Regions from separate parts of the Homo sapiens genome. Here all the other regions are linked to region 5. The links are contacts of gene promoters, found by promoter capture Hi-C in blood cells and fetal thymus (Javierre and others, 2016). All regions are on one chromosome and are shown on one strand. The core of a region is centred on a gene start or on the middle of the fragment in contact, and the rest is flanking DNA. Distances in the headings are between cores, read along the strand shown. Region 1 overlaps CILK1 (ciliogenesis associated kinase 1). Region 2 has its middle 27 kb from the start of MCM3. Region 3 overlaps FBXO9 (F-box protein 9). Region 4 overlaps GSTA4 (glutathione S-transferase alpha 4). Region 5 holds the start of TRAM2 (translocation associated membrane protein 2). Region 6 overlaps MCM3 (minichromosome maintenance complex component 3).

Evidence for each region. The method cuts DNA at HindIII sites, captures the fragments that hold promoters and counts their contacts. A CHiCAGO score of 5 or more calls a contact.
Region 1: a contact is called between a fragment that was not itself captured here and the fragment with the promoter of TRAM2 in region 5, in 1 of 17 cell types (total B cells). The highest score is 5.3, in total B cells.
Region 2: a contact is called between a fragment that was not itself captured here and the fragment with the promoter of TRAM2 in region 5, in 2 of 17 cell types (non-activated CD4 T cells and monocytes). The highest score is 5.9, in non-activated CD4 T cells.
Region 3: a fragment that was not itself captured here is called in contact with the fragment with the promoter of TRAM2 in region 5 in 1 of 17 cell types (total CD8 T cells); the score reaches 5.9 in total CD8 T cells.
Region 4: a fragment that was not itself captured here is called in contact with the fragment with the promoter of TRAM2 in region 5 in 1 of 17 cell types (total CD8 T cells); the score reaches 5.7 in total CD8 T cells.
Region 6: a fragment that was not itself captured here is called in contact with the fragment with the promoter of TRAM2 in region 5 in 5 of 17 cell types (non-activated CD4 T cells, total CD8 T cells, naive CD8 T cells and 2 more); the score reaches 8.1 in non-activated CD4 T cells.

Annotation. Positions count from the first base shown.
Region 1 is chr6:53,052,830-53,055,630 of GRCh38, reverse strand. All of the region lies in intron 1 of CILK1 (ciliogenesis associated kinase 1), which reads left to right. Among named protein-coding and RNA genes, the nearest start is that of CILK1, 7.6 kb to the left of the region's middle. The HindIII fragment of the contact is 1,175 bases long and covers 831-2,005 here.
Region 2 is chr6:52,310,584-52,313,487 of GRCh38, reverse strand. No RefSeq gene overlaps it. Among named protein-coding and RNA genes, the nearest start is that of MCM3, 27 kb to the right of the region's middle. The HindIII fragment of the contact is 1,829 bases long and covers 455-2,283 here.
Region 3 is chr6:53,080,321-53,083,254 of GRCh38, reverse strand. FBXO9 (F-box protein 9) reads right to left here. Exons shown (of 13, transcript NM_033480.3): 6 at 2,157-2,287; 7 at 637-751. Among named protein-coding and RNA genes, the nearest start is that of FBXO9, 16 kb to the right of the region's middle. The HindIII fragment of the contact is 1,868 bases long and covers 531-2,398 here.
Region 4 is chr6:52,982,281-52,985,256 of GRCh38, reverse strand. GSTA4 (glutathione S-transferase alpha 4) reads left to right here. Exons shown (of 7, transcript NM_001512.4): 5 at 652-793; 6 at 2,552-2,683. Among named protein-coding and RNA genes, the nearest start is that of GSTA4, 12 kb to the left of the region's middle. The HindIII fragment of the contact is 608 bases long and covers 1,392-1,999 here.
Region 5 is chr6:52,575,424-52,578,309 of GRCh38, reverse strand. TRAM2 (translocation associated membrane protein 2) reads left to right here and starts at 1,250. Exons shown (of 11, transcript NM_012288.4): 1 at 1,250-1,514. The coding sequence starts at 1,395. TRAM2-AS1 (TRAM2 antisense RNA 1) reads right to left here and starts at 1,108. Exons shown (of 3, transcript NR_103446.1): 1 at 1-1,108. RefSeq lists a silencer at 678-1,537. The HindIII fragment of the contact is 3,868 bases long and covers 1-2,446 here.
Region 6 is chr6:52,261,363-52,264,062 of GRCh38, reverse strand. It overlaps MCM3 (minichromosome maintenance complex component 3), which reads left to right. Exons shown (of 17, transcript NM_002388.6): 17 at 1-48. Among named protein-coding and RNA genes, the nearest start is that of IL17F, 18 kb to the right of the region's middle. The HindIII fragment of the contact is 1,150 bases long and covers 832-1,981 here.

The DNA of each region.
Region 1 (2,801 bases), core at 169-2,668, 480 kb before region 5:
AAAGGTATGAAGAAGTTTCTGGGGCACAGAAGAAGGCACATCATGTAACGGATTATCTTCTCTTGTTAACATCCAGTTGATGCAATAGCTGAATGCATCTTTAATTCACTCCTCTGTCAAGGTAAAGACAAAGCAAGATCCATGTAAAGAAGGTCCTTTTGGCTTTGTAACTGCTATTCCTTATGCAGAAAAAAAGCAGTAGTCCAAGAGGCAAAATGCTTAAAAGGTTTGCTTGCTAAAATGTACAGAGGCAGAAGAATTAGGTCCAGGAGAAAAACATAAACCCGGATATACTATTTCTAGTACCTTTTTAAAAGAAATTAACAGTATTCACTGACTTTTGTAAAGTTAGGACACATTCAAACCTAGAATACGAAGTCTAATTATAAACCTGTAAAGGTAAAATGGAACTCAGAATTACCATGAGAAGGGTCATCTAATGATTTTGCATATAATCCACTTTTCCTAGGAGGATAAATGAAAGTAACAGAATCTTTTCAATGTAAGATAATTAATGCAAAGGGAGACAAGCTCCTTCTAAGGAACTGAATGGTGTCAGTGGGCCTGGTAAACCACAACTCCCAGAGAACCCCAAGTTTGCTGTAACTTTTTGTCTCCTGTCTTAGAAAATGTGTAATGATGGCATTAATTCATTGATTAAGGTTTCAAAATAAAGAATGAACTACAATTTTCCCTGCCCCTCGCCTCCATTTTTTAGGCTGTGAATGAGCAAGGCACCTGATGTGAGCTGCTGGCCATGAGCAAATGTTCTTTGCCTCCACCGAGGATTGACGCTGAGGGGAGGGAATTGGGGCAAATCACAGGAAGCTTTTCCCCAATGTCACCTAGCCAGGAACATCATAACATTGACTTCAAAGGTTTGCTGGAACTCTTTGAAAGAGAGATAAAGCTGTCTTTCTTTGGTAGTTGAGTACAGCCTTACCCAAAGGCCAAAGGCCTGATCTGACCGCATGGAGGGGGACTTTCTGTGATCCTCTGAGACTCAGTCATCTTGGCATTGTTGTGGGAGGGCCCAGGCTGCCTGCCTGCCCCAGCTATTCTGTGGTATTCACTGTTCTTCCACTTCAGAACTTCAGAACTTTTAGTTGGGCCCAACAGTTTATCTTTGTTTTGTGTATGACAAAATAGAAGCACTGAGAATTTTGAGGTACTTAGCCAAGGTGGTACAGAAAATAATAGCAAAGACTAAAACTCACATTTGGGCCCTTCAAACAATCTTTGAGGACTTGCTACTGCAAGTGGAGTGAGAAGACAAAGATGAAGCAGTCTTGGAGAGTGTCGAGGCTGAAGCAGAGGGTACACCTGCAGGTCATTGCCACGGGGAAGGGGCTGGCAGTGAGGTGAGGACAAGGCACTATGGCATCAAGGGAGAGGACCATTCTCGGGTCTATATGTGTAGGTTGGGGCAGGAGGCTTGGAAGAGGTGACATGTGAGCTCGAAAGAGAAGGAATCGATGTTTAATGTTTACTGGGGCCTGGCTGAGGCACTGGGGCACTTGTGCATCTCTTGAAAGAAAGGTGTGTAGCATACAGGGTCCTTCGGTGGCACTGTCTTCTCCGCTAACCTTTGTTCATGTGATGCAAAAAGCAGAAACATTTATCCTTTTTTTTTTCTTAGACAAATGCTAGCTCAATTCCTGATACAGAGTCACAGAATCACACAGCTTTAGAGGAAGAAACCACCTTAGAGCAAGTCCCATGCCCTAATTCCACCAAAAGTAAACTCAAGGACCAAGAGATGCCCCGAGGCACAGCAGATCAGTGCTGAGTGGAAACTGGAACCAGTCCCTCACTTTGCCTCCACTGTGGGCATGTTGGTGCTGCCAATGGCTCCAGAGGATTCGCTGATATTTGATTGCAGAATGAAGACAATTAGAACATAGCCATATCATTCATTTTCATATTTGGGCTTTGAGATACAAAGTACTACTTCTGTTCCTGTCATTTTCAGATCCTCCAAAGATTTCATGATCTTTTGAAAGCTTTCCCTTAAGTTTGGTACAGTCAGCCTGGGTTCCTGTCTCATTTCTGCCACATTAGTCGTATAATCTAGACATGTAACTTGTGTCTCAGTTTCCTTCTCTGTAAAATAGGGATAATTGTAATAGTACCTGCCTGGTAGAATTATGAGGGTTAAATGTACTAATATATGCATAAGCACTTATAATAGTACTATGCACATACTAAGTACTAAAATTATCATGTTTTGGGCATATTTGATATATGAGGGTGCTAAGTGTAGATTCGTTGTAGTGAATGATTTATCCAAGTTAATTCTTGGAGTCAAAGCAGAATTTAGAAATACTGCGAGTTAGAAATACATGCTAATTCTCAAGGTAATGGACAGGCTGCTACATTCCATTCACTTCTCAAGCAGTGTTAACTATCTGTACCAGAAGCTGAATTTAAATGCTGTCAGGGCAGAGGAGGAAAATAAAAGACTCAAGGAAGCTGGGTGTGTGCTTGTCAAACAGTAAGAAATTGCTCTTCTCTTCTAAAAAAGAACAATTTTTCTTCTCTTCCAATTTTTCTTTAAGTATAAGGTTTTTTTTTTTTTCAGGCTTTTACTTTGTCACTTTTGTTATAGGCATAGGAACAGAGAAATATTTTTCATCCAGTAAAACAAGTGGCTATGAAGGCACACAAAAAAATGACAGCTAAAAAAAAAAAATGGCAAGTGGCAACAGGCAAAAAATGGGGACTGTGGTGAGCTGCAGAGCACACGCCCAGCCTGAAGAGGTACGGACATTTCTTCCACTTCTTATTACCGTGAAGGGCTA
Region 2 (2,904 bases), core at 120-2,619, 260 kb after region 5:
GGCTCTGCTACCCCCACATAGTACAAAATATATTGAACCCACATTTTACATCAAACACCACGTATATCACCACATAATTAGAGTAGAATTGAGTTGCAGTTAATTAATTTTCATCATGTTAAATTTATGGACATTTAAAGATACATATATTAATTTTGATTTTGCAAACTTTTTTTTTTAATGTCATTCTCCCCTCATCCCTGAAAGTCTCAGACATTTTTGTGGACCTAGAAAGAACTGTAGGTCCAGGAATACTCATTCTATTTTGTAGAATGAGATGTTGCCTGATTCCAGATTTGCCAATAAGAGCCAATTAAAAATAGAAGAAATGTAGGTCCTGAGCACTTTGCCTAATGGATACAAGGCCCAGCAATCAAGGGCTAAACTGGAAGGAATAAACAACAAATGCTAGAGCAATTCGGGGAGAGGAGGTATCAGTAAGGGCAGGAAAGCTTACGCGTCATATCTGTTAACCTGTTGATTTGCCTGGCCAAGAACTGCAGCTCCTAGGAAGCAGAGGAAGTAAGGGGACACTGTAGTCTGGGCATAACTTGGACCCCAAAGTTTCTCCAAGCAGAAACTAATGGGGTCAACTTGAAGGACTAGAAGCCTAGGTAAAAGTATCCATGCCTTCTTTCTTTTTTTCACTATGCCCCAGAACTGAGCAGACCTGTATCTTTTCAAAGTTTGGAGTACACAAGAATGGACACTGTCAGATGTTATGAAGGCAAATGTCAAACCATTCAGGGAAAAATCACAGATCTGATTACATGGCCTGAGACACTAAACAGGAGGATGTCTCCAGAGAATAAGAGAACTGTCAAAAACTGAACACTGAGGATACAATGAACAATGGGGAAGGCAGGAAATTGAGAGCTGGAGAGACCCATCAAGCTGAAATGCAAACTCATTAGTCAGCTCAGATTTGAAAAATGCCGCATTGAGAAAAGAGAATGTAGATGCAATGAAGGTGGCTTAGTCTGCTCAGGCTGTCATAACAAAATGCCATAGACTTTTCGATGGCTTAAGGCACAGAAATTTATTTCTTACAGTTCGGTAGGCTGGGAAGTCCAAGATCAAGGTGCTGGCAAGGCAGGTCTCATCCTGAGGCCTCTTCTCTTGGCTTGTAGGAGGCTGCCATTACTGTTTACTCACATGACCTCCTGTTTGTGTGCTGGGGCTATGGTGGAGTGAGCTCTCTGGTGCCTCTTCTTATGAGGGCACTGACTTCAGTGTGACAGTCCCGCTGTCAGACTTCATCTAATCCTAAGTACCTCCCAAAGGCCCCATCTCCATAGACCATCACATTGGGGATTAAAGTTCATTGCAACATATGAATTTTCAGTGGACACTATTTAGTGCATAGCAGAAGGATACACCTAAAAGACGGACACCTAAAAGAGGGACTTTCAGGACAGCTGACAAAATGGATAAAGCCAAGAATGAGCTGTTTGAGAAAAATAAGAATTTTTTTTTTAAAGGCCATGTAATATTGCAGAAAAGAGTAGGAGCATTGGTTACAGACAGACCTGGGCTGAATCCTGTTTATTAACTGTGTAGCCTTCGATAAGTTACTTAATATCTCTGAGCCTCAGTTTCCATAGCTGTAAAAGGAACATTAAAAACGTATCACAGGGTTGTTGTAAGGATTAATGAGATAAAGGGTTTAAAGTACTGGCACAGAGAAAAGGCCTTCTAAAGGTTTTGATGGGGGATGGAAGGTACAGGCATGTTGTTGAGGAGCGAATGGGATGGTGATAGGTGACAGGGAGAAGCTGGTTCATGCTGAAATGTGCTGGCTCATGAGTACCACTCTCGCTGAGCAGGAGGTAGGACTGGGTGACTTCTCTAGTGCTCTCCAACTCTGAAATCCCATTAATCCCCATATCTATGAGGAAGCAGATCTGTTCATCTCACCTGCTTTGTTGTTACTATCCATTCGTGCTCTGCATTTTTACAAATATTATCTTATTCAATCTTCACTACAACCTGAAACCTAATAGTAATAATAATAGCGATTATTATTCCCATCTTACAGATTAGCAAACTGAAGTTCAAAGAATTGGATAACCTAGCCCAAGATCAGACCTTTGGAGAATGAAAGAATCTGGATTTGCACCCGGAACTTACTGGCTTCCACCTCTAAACACCAGCTTCCCTGTTCCAACTTTTCTAAAGTTGAATGTTCTTCATACAAATATCAGCAGGAAGACATTGAGGCACAAAATAAATGGGGTATTGTATGAGAATGCCTAGCTTTCAATGAGCTTATGTCTCCAAGCTTGGACAAATTCCGGCTGGGGTACCAACAGAATTTATATATGAGAAGACTGTTGGCAGCTTTTCAGGGACTGTGGGGCCGGGGAGAGACGCCAGAAGACTGTGGCTGGGTACACACTATTCCATTTTGTGAAAAGGGGAAGAAGGTTGATTCTGCAAACCATAGATGCCAGAGTCCTGGGCAAAGTTCTTGAAGGGCATCCTATAAACATAAAAAAAGGGAAGTCATTGCTAGGCACCAACAAGTTTTCATTGAGAAGAGATTATTCCAAATGAACCTAACTTCCATTTCTCATAAGGTGAAAAATTGGTATGGCTTTATTTAGACAATACATTTTGCTCATTTTCATGAACCAGTTGAAAAATCTATTTTGTAAAAAAATTAATAAAAAATAATAAGACTGTTTCTATGAGAAATATAATTTTTTGGTTATTCATTTTAAAAATTTGATGTAATTACAGATTTACACATGCTTATAAGAAATAGTACAGAGGCCAGACACAGTGGCTTATGCCTGTAATCCCAGCACTTTGGGAGGCCGAGGTGGGAAGATCACAAGGTCAGGAGATCGAGACCAACCTGGCCAACATGATGAAACCCCGTCTCTACTAAATATAGAAAAA
Region 3 (2,934 bases), core at 215-2,714, 500 kb before region 5:
AATTAATTTAAAAATAATGCATCTGAATTTTAAGAACAAGTTGTTTTTAAAAATTCTATATAAGGACTAAGTATATAGTTTTAGGTTTTACATTTAAGTCTTTAATCCATCTTGATTTGATTTTTGTGTGTCGTGTAAGGAAAGGATCCAGTTTCCATCTTCTGCACATGGCTAGCCGCTTATCTCAGCACCATTTATTGAATAGAGTCCTTTCCCACACATAGCAAAATTTTCAAAATATAGAATAACTTTTAATGAGCCATAAGAAAATGCTAGTGCTGTTTTAATCTAAACCATTACCACAATGAGTTTACAGTTAGTGTAAAAATGACTTGAATATATTTTTCTAATATAACTCTTTTTCCCAAATCAGTTAAGCTAGCATGTAAACTCTATGGTAGTAGTATGGGTTACTACATCTGTCCTACATATTATTCTATACCCTAGAAACCTAGCATATTCTAGCCTTTAAATTCTAAGTTATTTGAGAAAGTTAAGTACAGCTTAGCAAAACTTGTTTATTCTAAGCTTTAACTCAGAACACCAATCAAGTAATTTTATCAGGATTGGCAAAGGACCATCTTTCTTTTCACCATTGCCTCAGTTGTTTAAAAAACAAAAACAAAAACTTAGTACCTGGCACAGATGTAGAATCCTCTGCACACCAGCGACAACTGCTCCAATGATCTGAGGTCCAAGTCACTAGACACCACCCATCGGAAGATGTACATCAGGACCTCCATTGGCAGCACTGCAAAAGAAAATCATCCTTCAGTGACTCTCCTCTATGTCATTCTATTGTCACAACTACATTCCCAGTACATTTATACCTTCCTAGAAATTTATAATCACACCCTCTGTATTGCTCAGAGCTAAAGCATGAATGTATTTAGCTACTCAATAATAATAATGGTTCTTAACATCAAGACATAAATATCTTTGTTTTTTCAGTATAGATCTGAAGCTACTTTTTATAAAGCACTCTTTTCCCTCATAAGATTATTTTGCCAGACATATTAAAATAAATGTTTTAGGAAAATAATCTATGTGTGTGTGATCCATATTGCATCTATTAACACTAAAGTTATTTTCATCTCCTTGAAAACTTTTAATTGTCCTCCTCTGAAAAAGCCCCGAACCAAACAATATTTAACATATTAAAAATACATGAATTTCTTTTTTTTTTGTGACAGGTTCTTGCTCTGTTGCCCAGGCTGGAGTGCAGTGATACAATCTCAGCTCACTGCAGCCTCTGCCTCCTGGGTTCAAGTAATTCTCGTGCCTCAGCCTCCCAAGTAGGTGGGACTACAGTCATGCGCCACGACGCCCAGCTAATTTTTGTATTTTTAGTAGAGGTGGGGTTTCACCATGTTGGCCAGGCTTATCTTGAACTCCTGGCCTCAAGTGATCCTCCCAACTCAGCCTCCCAAAATGCTGAGATTGCAGGCGTGAGCCACCATGCCCGAACAAAAATCCATTAATTCCTAAACATTCAGTCTGTCTCAGGACAATTGTCCAACATGGCTGAAATGCTTCATGATACCAGTATTCCTCCAGTTTTCTTAGGGCTACCTCAACAACTCAGACTTACCCTGTTAGATCTTTACTGAAAAAGGTATGGCATCCTTAAACAACAGCACTACAAACTGTTCTGCTTCAGATTGTAAAGCAGCTTACTACTGGGCTGGGCGCAGTGCCTCAGAGGCCTGTAATCCCAGCACTTTGGGAGGCCAAGGTGGGCAGATCATGAAGTCAGGAGTTCGAGACCAGCCTGGCCAACATGGTGAAACTCTGTCTTTACTGAAGATACAAAAATTTAGCTGGGTGTGGTGGCACACGCCTGTAATCCCAGCCACTTGGGAGGCTGAGGCAGCAGAATTGCTTGAACCCAGGAGGCAGAGGTTGCAGTGAGCCGAGATTGCACCACTGCACTCCAGCCTGGGTGACAGGGCACGTCTCCATTTCAAAAAACAAAACAAGACAAAACAAAACACAAAACAGCTTAATAGTATATGCAAATGATAATTATAACTAGATCTTCCACCATATTCTGAACTAAAGCAGCAGTTATCTGGCAAATTATCTGACCTTATAAATTTGGAAATCTTTAAGGTTAAGATATTTCTCACTGAGTTATGAAAAACAAGTATTCACACCTGATATGTGAATCTGACTGCTCTCAAGCTCAGGCTGACACAGTTTAAGCACAGACTCCTGAAATGTGAGTTGCTGCTGGAAGTAGGACAAGAGATCTGCCATTTTGCTGTCATCATCATTATCTTCAATGCTGAAAAAAGGGAGGTGAATAAATTAAGTGCCTCAGTCTACAAGCGTACAGTTTAGAAACTGATTTTTCATAGCATTTTCAAATTTGCTTTACAAAAAGTCACCTAAAGCTTATTCAACATGTGATACATTTTTAAATGTGATGAATTTATCCTGTCTTGCAAAGGAATACTGTATCAAGTTTTTCAAAGAAAAAAGCTTCAGTAATTATCATCCAGAAAGAATTAGAATTTTTGGATACAGGTGTTGAGATTTAACTAATTTTATTGTAAAGTAGAGATTTTATGAGTTACTGCAAGCTTTCAAATGGTTTCAAAAATCTTAACGTAGTATGTTCTTTAACCTTAATTTATTCTAACTGGATAAAAACCAAATCTACAGACGTCATCTGAGGTACTTACTTACCAAGGGTTTTCTAACAGATTTGCCTTATCAGCCTACCTTTAGAGAGGAAAATACCTACTTTGAAAACATCTTAGGGTTCACAAATCATCTACCAGTATACACAAATGTGTAGTGAATGGTGCTAGAAAAATGAGCTTTCTATTTTTACTGAAGTAAACCTTAAAGATGATCAGACTTACAAAGAGGATTGGATGAAGGCGAAGTTAGAAAACCAGGAAGTTTCAAGTGATGTAGACTTAAAAA
Region 4 (2,976 bases), core at 446-2,945, 410 kb before region 5:
TCAGATATTGAATATTATATCTAGGGTGTCATTGTTTCAGATTTCAACATTTTTAAATGCTTTGATACTGCTTTTTCCCTTTCTTGCACATTCACTATTGTTAAGTATTAGGAATGAGGAGCTGCTGTGACATTCAAGGCCTGGGAGAGTGAGCATTAGATTATAATTTGAAATCAAAGCCTGGTCCTTGCACCCCTTAGATGTATGACCCTGGGCAACGTGGGTATAAGAATAGTACATTTCTCATAGTGTCATGTGATTTAATGAGATAATGGATAGAGAGTGTTTAGCACCATGCCTGGTACACTCTAAGCACTCAATAAGTGGTATTCACTATTTTTATAAAGTTGAAGTTTGACCCATACGAAGAGACCAAAACATGGATGCTGGGGTAAAAGTGGAGGAGTAGGATGCCAGGAGAGAGAGCACTCATGACTGTCAAGCTGTCTGATCTGTGACAGATTTTTCTGAGTTACAACTAGAATTGACCTTATATCTTTGCTCTTAAGAGACAGGTATAGGTAAATGCTTCTAGGGACTTAAGTTGCAGCATCTTTAAAAAAAAAAAAAAAAGCACTCTGAATTCTTAGTTGTGGAAACTGATGGCTTCAAAGAGAGGAGAAACTGAGACAACTGCTTTTTTGTTTTAAGGATTGACATGTACGTGGAGGGGACACTGGATCTGCTGGAACTGCTTATCATGCATCCTTTCTTAAAACCAGATGATCAGCAAAAGGAAGTGGTTAACATGGCCCAGAAGGCTATAATTAGATACTTTCCTGTGTTTGAAAAGGTAGGTGGCAGAGATGCCTACATACACAGAGCAACCAAACCACAAACCACAAAGAAGCTGCCACAAACACCCTTTTCTGTCCAAGGATTTTAAAACTGAGCCCAGTTGAACTAACCTAAGCGCTAATGGACTCCTAAGAGCGAATAGTAGCCACAGCACAAAGCTGGTGTCTTAGAGCCCCTTGGACTCTGCTAGGACCACATGATTCAGAAGTCTAGAAAAAGTATGGGCTCCCTGCCTTTGTTCCTTATTGTTCCTTGCATTCACCAAGTTCCCACCTTGTGTGGATACAGCAGAAACTTCAGAAGATACAGAAAACAAAAACTACCTCATTCATTCATTCAACAAAAGTTGTCGAACAGCTGTCTCAGCTGACATCCTCCCTGATAATTCGATATGAGTAGAAGAACCATTTCCATTTTATTTATCTTCCCTTTGCTCTTTTTGTTTTTGGTTTTGTTGTTTTTCTCTTCTTGTTATATCTGCTTTTCTGAGCTTCAAATTCTTTATTCCTGAACTGGGAGGAACTTTTTTAGTGTTTCAATGCAAACACTAAAGAAGAGGGTGTGAAAATATGGGAAGACCTATTTGGCAAGCTTCCTCTGACCATCTTTATGGAACTAGATTTAGGAAAAAGGAGAGGTATTTTCTGGGGTTTCTGTAGCTAGGTTTTATGGTATCTTTCCCACAGGCACTTTGTGAATGTAAAATAGGATAATGAAGAAATGTGGTCTGGAACGGGCACAGAGGACCTGGTGCTTTGGCAAAGGTTCACTGCTCATTCTTAGGTCCCAAGGGCCCAGACTGTGTCAGGGTTTCTTGCAACACGCCTATGAGGTGAGAACCGTTGTCCCTTTTACACATAATGAAATGAAGTCATGAAGAGATTCAGTGACCTGTCCAAGGTAACATGGCCAGAAAATGGAGAGCAGGGTTGGAACTCTGGCCTCTGACTACAAATTCAGGATGCATTGTACTATGCCACTCTGGCTCCAGTAGCTATATTTGACCTGGAATTGTGTTCGGAGTCCCTGTGACACACACACTTGTGCACATGCAGACACCCATGGGCATCCAAGAGTTGACTGTGAAGGGGATCTCCCCTTTGCTACTACTGCTTCTTGCCTCTCCCTAATCACAATCTATTCTTATAAGCCCCACACCTATACGTTACCCTCAGAATGGGAGTCAAGATGAACTCAAGCTTTTCATTTTCTCTGTTTTGGGACATGTAAGAGGAAGTCTAATTTTATAATTGGGTTGAGTTTATGACTACACCTCTTGATGTTCTAGCAGCAGAACTGGGAAATAAGAGTGGGCCCCTTGAAGATGATCTATCACTTAGATTTCTTAAATCACCCTGCCCCTCCCCAAGCCTCCTGCATGCATTTCTGTAGATACATTTTTGGAGTAGATATATCCTTTCAAAACACCAGATGCTAAATCCAGAAATAAGGAATTTTCCCTTCCCCACTTCAATGTCTCATTCAGATCCACAGCAGATATTTAAGGATGCTTTCATTTCCACACCTTTTTTGTACTTTCTCTCTCTCTCTCTCGCTCTCTCTCTCTCTCTCTCCCCCTCTCTCTCACTCTCTCTGTCAGATATAGGGTGCGTTCTCTTAATTGATGTTATTTATGAAAGCATGAAATGACAAGGTCATAGTTTCACCTCTTCTCAGATACTGCACTGATTCAATAGCCTCATCACTCTCTCCATGTGGAATATTGTAACTGATGCACACCATTTCCCTACAGATTTTAAGGGGTCACGGACAAAGCTTTCTTGTTGGTAATCAGCTGAGCCTTGCAGATGTGATTTTACTCCAAACCATTTTAGCTCTAGAAGAGAAAATTCCTAATATCCTGTCTGCATTTCCTTTCCTCCAGGTAAATAAAACTATGTATTAGAAGATTGGCCTAGAACTCTTGGGCCTTCCTTCAGTGTCTATTGTTTGGTTGGCTTTGGGGAGTGTGTGTGTGTGTGTATGTGTAATATTTTTAAGATTCTAGTTTGGCAAATGAAATGAAAGTAAGGACCCAAAGTTATTTTTCTGGTCCTTAAATCCTTCAAGTTGAAAGATCATTGAAGTGTAAAATTTTTTTTTTTTAAGGTGGGATCTTACTATGTTGCCCAGAATGGTCTTGAACTCCTGGGCTCAAGAGATCCTCCCACCTCAGTC
Region 5 (2,886 bases), core at 1-2,500:
GTTCCTCACAAGACGAAGGTTCAACTTTGAGAAAGGTCAGCCTTGAAGTTAAATGAGGTTTAGTCCAATCTAGGCATTACTTTGTCATTTCCTTGAGAGTCAGATAAGGGAATTACAGACCCAAGACTGTATTTTAAGTAAGGTGGAGTGCAGATTGAGGAAGTAAAATTTCTCTAGGAACTCCATCCTGTCTCAATTACATTCCACCGCGTGCCACTTTTAAAAAACCATATTTATTTAGAAGTGAAATAACTGTGGACCTAATAAAAAATGGAATAGGAATTAGTTTTTTTTGTTCATTACGTATTTCTGCACATCTAGAAAGTAACTGACTGCTTCATTACTGGTAGGATTAAATCCAATATTTGCGAATATAATTTATTAAGAACACCTTTTGTCCTTCCAGGAGTACTTTTAAGACTTAATATTAAATAGAAACTTTCAGTGAGAAAGTTCCTTCCTTTTTTGCTTCTTCTGTGTTTATTCTTCCACTTCTTCTGATTAATATGTAAGGTAGACTTTCGGTGAAATGTGTGTAGCTAATTAATGGTGGCATGAGGGTCCCAAAAATTACTGGGCAAAACTGCAATCATCCACCCTCTCCCCGCATTGGAGCGAAAGCTCCCCTAGGGCAGGGTCTTTCGGTTTGTTGATCTACCTGAACTGTGCCTAGCCCACTGCAAGTTCTCGATAAATACTTGAGTAATCTCCATTCACTGATCGTCCGTGCAGGGCGCTGTGGCCAGCCAGAAGGCCGGTTCGCGGCTTCCCTGCTTCCGCCGCACCCGCGCCGCCCTCAGCCCCCGGGGCCACAGCCCGCAACCCCGGGAGCATCCGGCTGCCCGGCCACCCCCGGGGCGCTCGCTGCCTCCGGGGCCTGCCCTTCCCGCGGAGGAAGGAGCGGAGCGAGGAGTGGGAAAGCTGGGCCCACTTCCTGTCCGGGCAGGCCTGGGCGCCCGCCTCCTCCGCGGCCTGCTTTCTCCACCGCGAGCGGCTGAGCCTCGGGCCCCGAGAATGCGGCCGGGCGCGGCGCTGGCGCGGGACGAGGAGGAGCCGAGCCCCGCTCGCCGCCCCCGTACGCCTCCGCCCCGGTAGCCCGCGCGTGCCCAGCGGCTAGAGGGTTAAGCCCGCGGGGGGCGGGGCCAGGCGCGCCGAGTGCGGGCCGCGGGCTGGGCGGGGGCTGGGCGGGGGCTGCGGCCGGGGGCGGTTACGGGCGGCCGGGGGCGGGCGGAGGAAGGGGGCGGGCCCCGAAGTTGTTCCGCGCTGGGCGGGCGAGCGGCTGTGGGAGAGCGGGCGGCGGGCCGGCGGGCGGACCGGGCCGGTGCTGGAGAAGTTTGCGCTGCGGTTCGTGAGCGCAGGGTGCGGGCCCCGCCGGCCGCTGCGCGCCCGCTGCCATGGCTTTCCGCAGGAGGACGAAAAGTTACCCGCTCTTCAGCCAGGAGTTCGTCATCCACAACCATGCGGACATCGGCTTCTGCCTGGTGCTCTGCGTCCTCATCGGGCTTATGTTCGAGGTGAGAGCCTGGGGAGGAGGGAGCTGGAGGGACAGTGCCCCCTGTCGTGCACCGCCCGGCACACCCCTGCAGGTCAGCGGGCCCTCCTCTGATCGGAGGCTCCTGGCTGCCGTGTACGTTATCTGCACCCCGGCTTTGTGCACTGTACCCCTCCGGCCTGTACCCCGGCCAGCCCAGACAGCACCCCCAGCTCCGCGCCGTGCCAGCCATGCCATGCTCTGCCGCCCCCTTGGGCACTCATCGTATCCTGCAGCTCTGTCTGCAGCCCTGAAACCCCAGCCTGGCCTCGAACCAACCGCCGCGCTGCCACCATGGCTTGACGCGTGGGGTTCCCTTTCTGGCGTCCAGGAGCCAAGCCCAGAGACTCCCAGACCCGCAGTCATTGCACAACCCCCTCTTGCCCCAAGGGGTGGCCACTAGCTCTTCTGGGCTTTTCCAGTGGGAGAGACCCAGAACCTTTTCCACTTCCTATGTGATTTTCTGGGTGTTTTGCATCTCAGCTCTGGAACGTGCTCGGATGTTCACGTGTGGCCCTGGCCCCATCCCAGCAGTGGCCTTCTGCTCTCGTCTCGCTCCCACTTTTTTGCTGTGCTCTAGAAGGCCAATTTTTGGATATCCTTTACCACTCCGTGAACTGTCCCTTTAGATCCATCTGCGGCGACCCAGAGCTTCACCCCCTTTACAGAGACAAGAAGAGAGACAGGGATACCCTCCACTTTTTGGGGAAAGTTGATTCTCTTATAGTGTAGGAGTGGGGGGCAGAGGATGGGGATCCCACCCCCAACAGCAATGTCCTGGTGTCGGCCTCCCAGGCAGGGAGTTGTAGAAAGCCAGCAAGGGGTCAGAATTCACAAGACTGATGGGAAGGATTCCCTACTCTTGCAGAGCAAGAAAAATGTGATATTCAAAAGTGGGAAGAACTGGAGGAAGCTTGGCATGGGTTTGTTGCGGTATATCTTGTCTCAGAAGTGAGATATGTGAGCGACATTCCCCTCACTCTCACCGTGGTCTCCTCTGGTTCCTGAGACTCCTTGTCCTCCCTTCTGCGTCAGCTTGCTTATTGCATTCTCACGGTTGGGTTAGGAAGCTGTGATCATTTACAAACTTCCTTGGAGATGGAGGATGGCTTGCCTGGCTAAATTTCCTTCCCTGTCCCTCTGTCTCGGGTTCCCTGTATCTCTACGAATGACAAGGGCCCTAATTGGCTGGCGAAGCTGCCCTCAAGCTGGGAACGTTCTTGTGGTGGCCAAGTCAGGGTTGGATGAATGAATGTGTCCGTGGCTGAGCTTTAGGGTCTGTAGGAAATAAACGGTGGTGCTAGGACTGGGGTCTCCACTCCACTTTTTGATAGTGCTCCTTTAGTTCAGTCCCT
Region 6 (2,700 bases), core at 157-2,656, 310 kb after region 5:
GATGAATATCCGAGATGTTGAATAAACTTAGCCATTTCGTACACATGGTCTTAATAGTCATAGTGTGTTTTTTATACATAACATTGAATTGTTTTCCTTGAGAGCAATCGTGCAGGGTTTGCTGCTCCCGCATTTGCAGCAAACTACCACAAGGTGGCAGCAGCCTGCTGTGATCTCTGGGGGTCATGTCTTCTCTAGAGGCAGTTTTCTTCTTCAGCAGCACCAGCGTTTATCAGTCAAAATTGATAGTATAGACCAAACCCTGCCAATTTAAAATAGCTAAATGGCCACGGGAGGCTAGTGAGTAAAAGTTCAGGAGAAGAATTGCCCCTCTGCCTGGCGCTTTTTGCCTGAATCTAAACTTATCCTTCATAAAGATAGAATACCCGATACGTCAGACACCTCAAAATCCTGGGAGTTCTTGCCCATAATGAGATCTTGTTACAGTATCTTTTTTTTTTTTTTTTTTTTTTTTTTTGAGACAGGGTCTCGCTTTGTGCCCAGACTAGAGTGCAGTGGTACAATCACAGCTGATGACAGCCTTGACCTCCTGGGCTCAAGTGATCCTCCTGCCTCAGCCTCCCTAGTAGCTGAGACCACAGACACGTGCCATCATGCCCCGCTAAGTTTTTATTTTTAATTTTTAGTAGAGATGAGGTCTGTCTGTTGCCCAGGCTGGCCTTGAACTCCTGGACTCAAGTGATTCTCCCATCTCGGCCTCCTAAACTGTGAGATTATAGGTGTGAGCCACTGTGCCCAGCCTACAGGATGCTTTTGAAACTACCTGGGTGTCCACTCTTTGGGGTTGGTTAGCCTGTTTGCACAGAAGCTTGTGATGGGGCCAGGGCGGGACTTCTGTCCTACCGTTATATGGTTTGAATAGCTTCTGAAGAATTTTTCAAGTTACTTAGAAGAATCATGTGACTTTATGGGGGGCCTCGGTCACATGGACCGGAAGCTGCTTTCTGGTGGCAGATGTGGCTCTGAAGTTGTGCCAGTTCTTGGCTGTAAGATTGCTGAGGTATTTTCTTTTCCATTTTTGCTGAGGGGTGATCCTTTACCACAAAGCAGGAGATATTCTTTGGTTCGTTAGGACAAAGGGATTTTTTTCTTAAAGGGAGTAGTACAAAATTATTGGGGAATTCTGTTTTATCTGGGATTTTTTTTTCCCCCTCACTGATGCGAGCGAGATCTAAGTCCTACTGGAAGTGGTCTAGAGAGCACAGTTTCAAAAGAGAGTGCAGTGGTACCAGAAGGAAGAATTTGCCATTTGTTGAGCATTGGCAATAAGTCAGAAGTTGTGCTAGGTATAGCAGTGGGTGCAAAAGTGGCGCTTTCTGCTCTGAGGCTTCTAGGCTGGGGATATGTCAATATGTTGGTGAAAATTTCAAAATATAAAGTGTACAGCTGGGCACGGTGGCTCATGCCTGTAATCTCAGCACTTTGGGAGGCTGAGGCAGGCGGATTGCTTGAGTCCAGGAGTTTAAGGCCAGCCTGGGCAACATGGCGAGACCCTGTCTTTATTAAAAAAAAATTAAGTATGATTATATACCAAATGAGGGCACACACAGAGATATAGGAATCCAGGGAGGACCATGAGGATGTCAGGTGCTACTGATGGGGTACAGCTATGAAGAACAGTTCTAGGAGTTCTTAGGGATCTCCTCAAGTGATTTGTTCTAGAAAGGCAAACATTCTGTCAATGGGACTCTTAGTCTGTCCTTCACCTCTGAGGAAACTGAGGCACAGAGTGGGGGGATATGTGCACCTACCATTGTGATAATAGCTGTAATATCAGGTTGACTTTGCTGACCATTTCATCACTCTTCAAGCTAGTCAAAAGAATAGTAGGTAGAAGACTATAGCAGCCACAATAGATACTAATTGTATTAAAATAGCATGATTCAACCTTTACATTGAGTTTTAAGAAACTTGTTTATGTAGTTCCCAGCTTACAAGAACAGAAAAGAGCTGGTAAGCTTTTCCAGGATAGGTTCTTGCTTGTTGACAGGTGATCCACTGCAGGACCTACTGTGGGGACCTGAAAGAGGCTGCTCAAGTGGGCTGACATGTCTCAAGTCCAGTCACCCCTGAGGGTATCGCTGTTGCCACCCTGCAGAGATTGCAGTGGTGACCCAGATTCACCAGAGAAAACTGCTAAATTATCTGCGTGCCTCATTCCAAAAGAGAAGTCTGTTTACATTTAGGTTTGTGGTCTGAAATACTGTAGTTAAAATAATTTGGGGAGCTTAGAGAAGTAAGTTTTTGTATCTTGAAAAATGGCACCTTATTCCTTAACTCCCCTGGATAAATGAAGTGGCAAAATGAAAGGGTGGTTTTCAAAAAGGACAATTTGGTAAGGATTGTTGAAATTGAATCTCTTCTCCGCCATTTACCGAATAACTTCAGGTAAGTTTTATGCTACTCTTTATTTCAGCTGTAAAATGGGGATGATTCCTGCCTTGTAGGATGCTTGTGAAACATAATTGGGAAAGCAGATGGCAGGTTCCCACCTGGTGTATTACTACTTCATGGCAGTGGTTTTGATTACTGCAAGTTCGAGGGCCCATTAAAACAAAGTGATTCATTTTGACAAATGTTTATGAAACATGATCCTTTAATCAAAACCATTTACAATGATTTCACCCTGGCTGCATTCCTGAACTCTCATCTCTTCCCTGCCTTTCCACTCTCTGATGG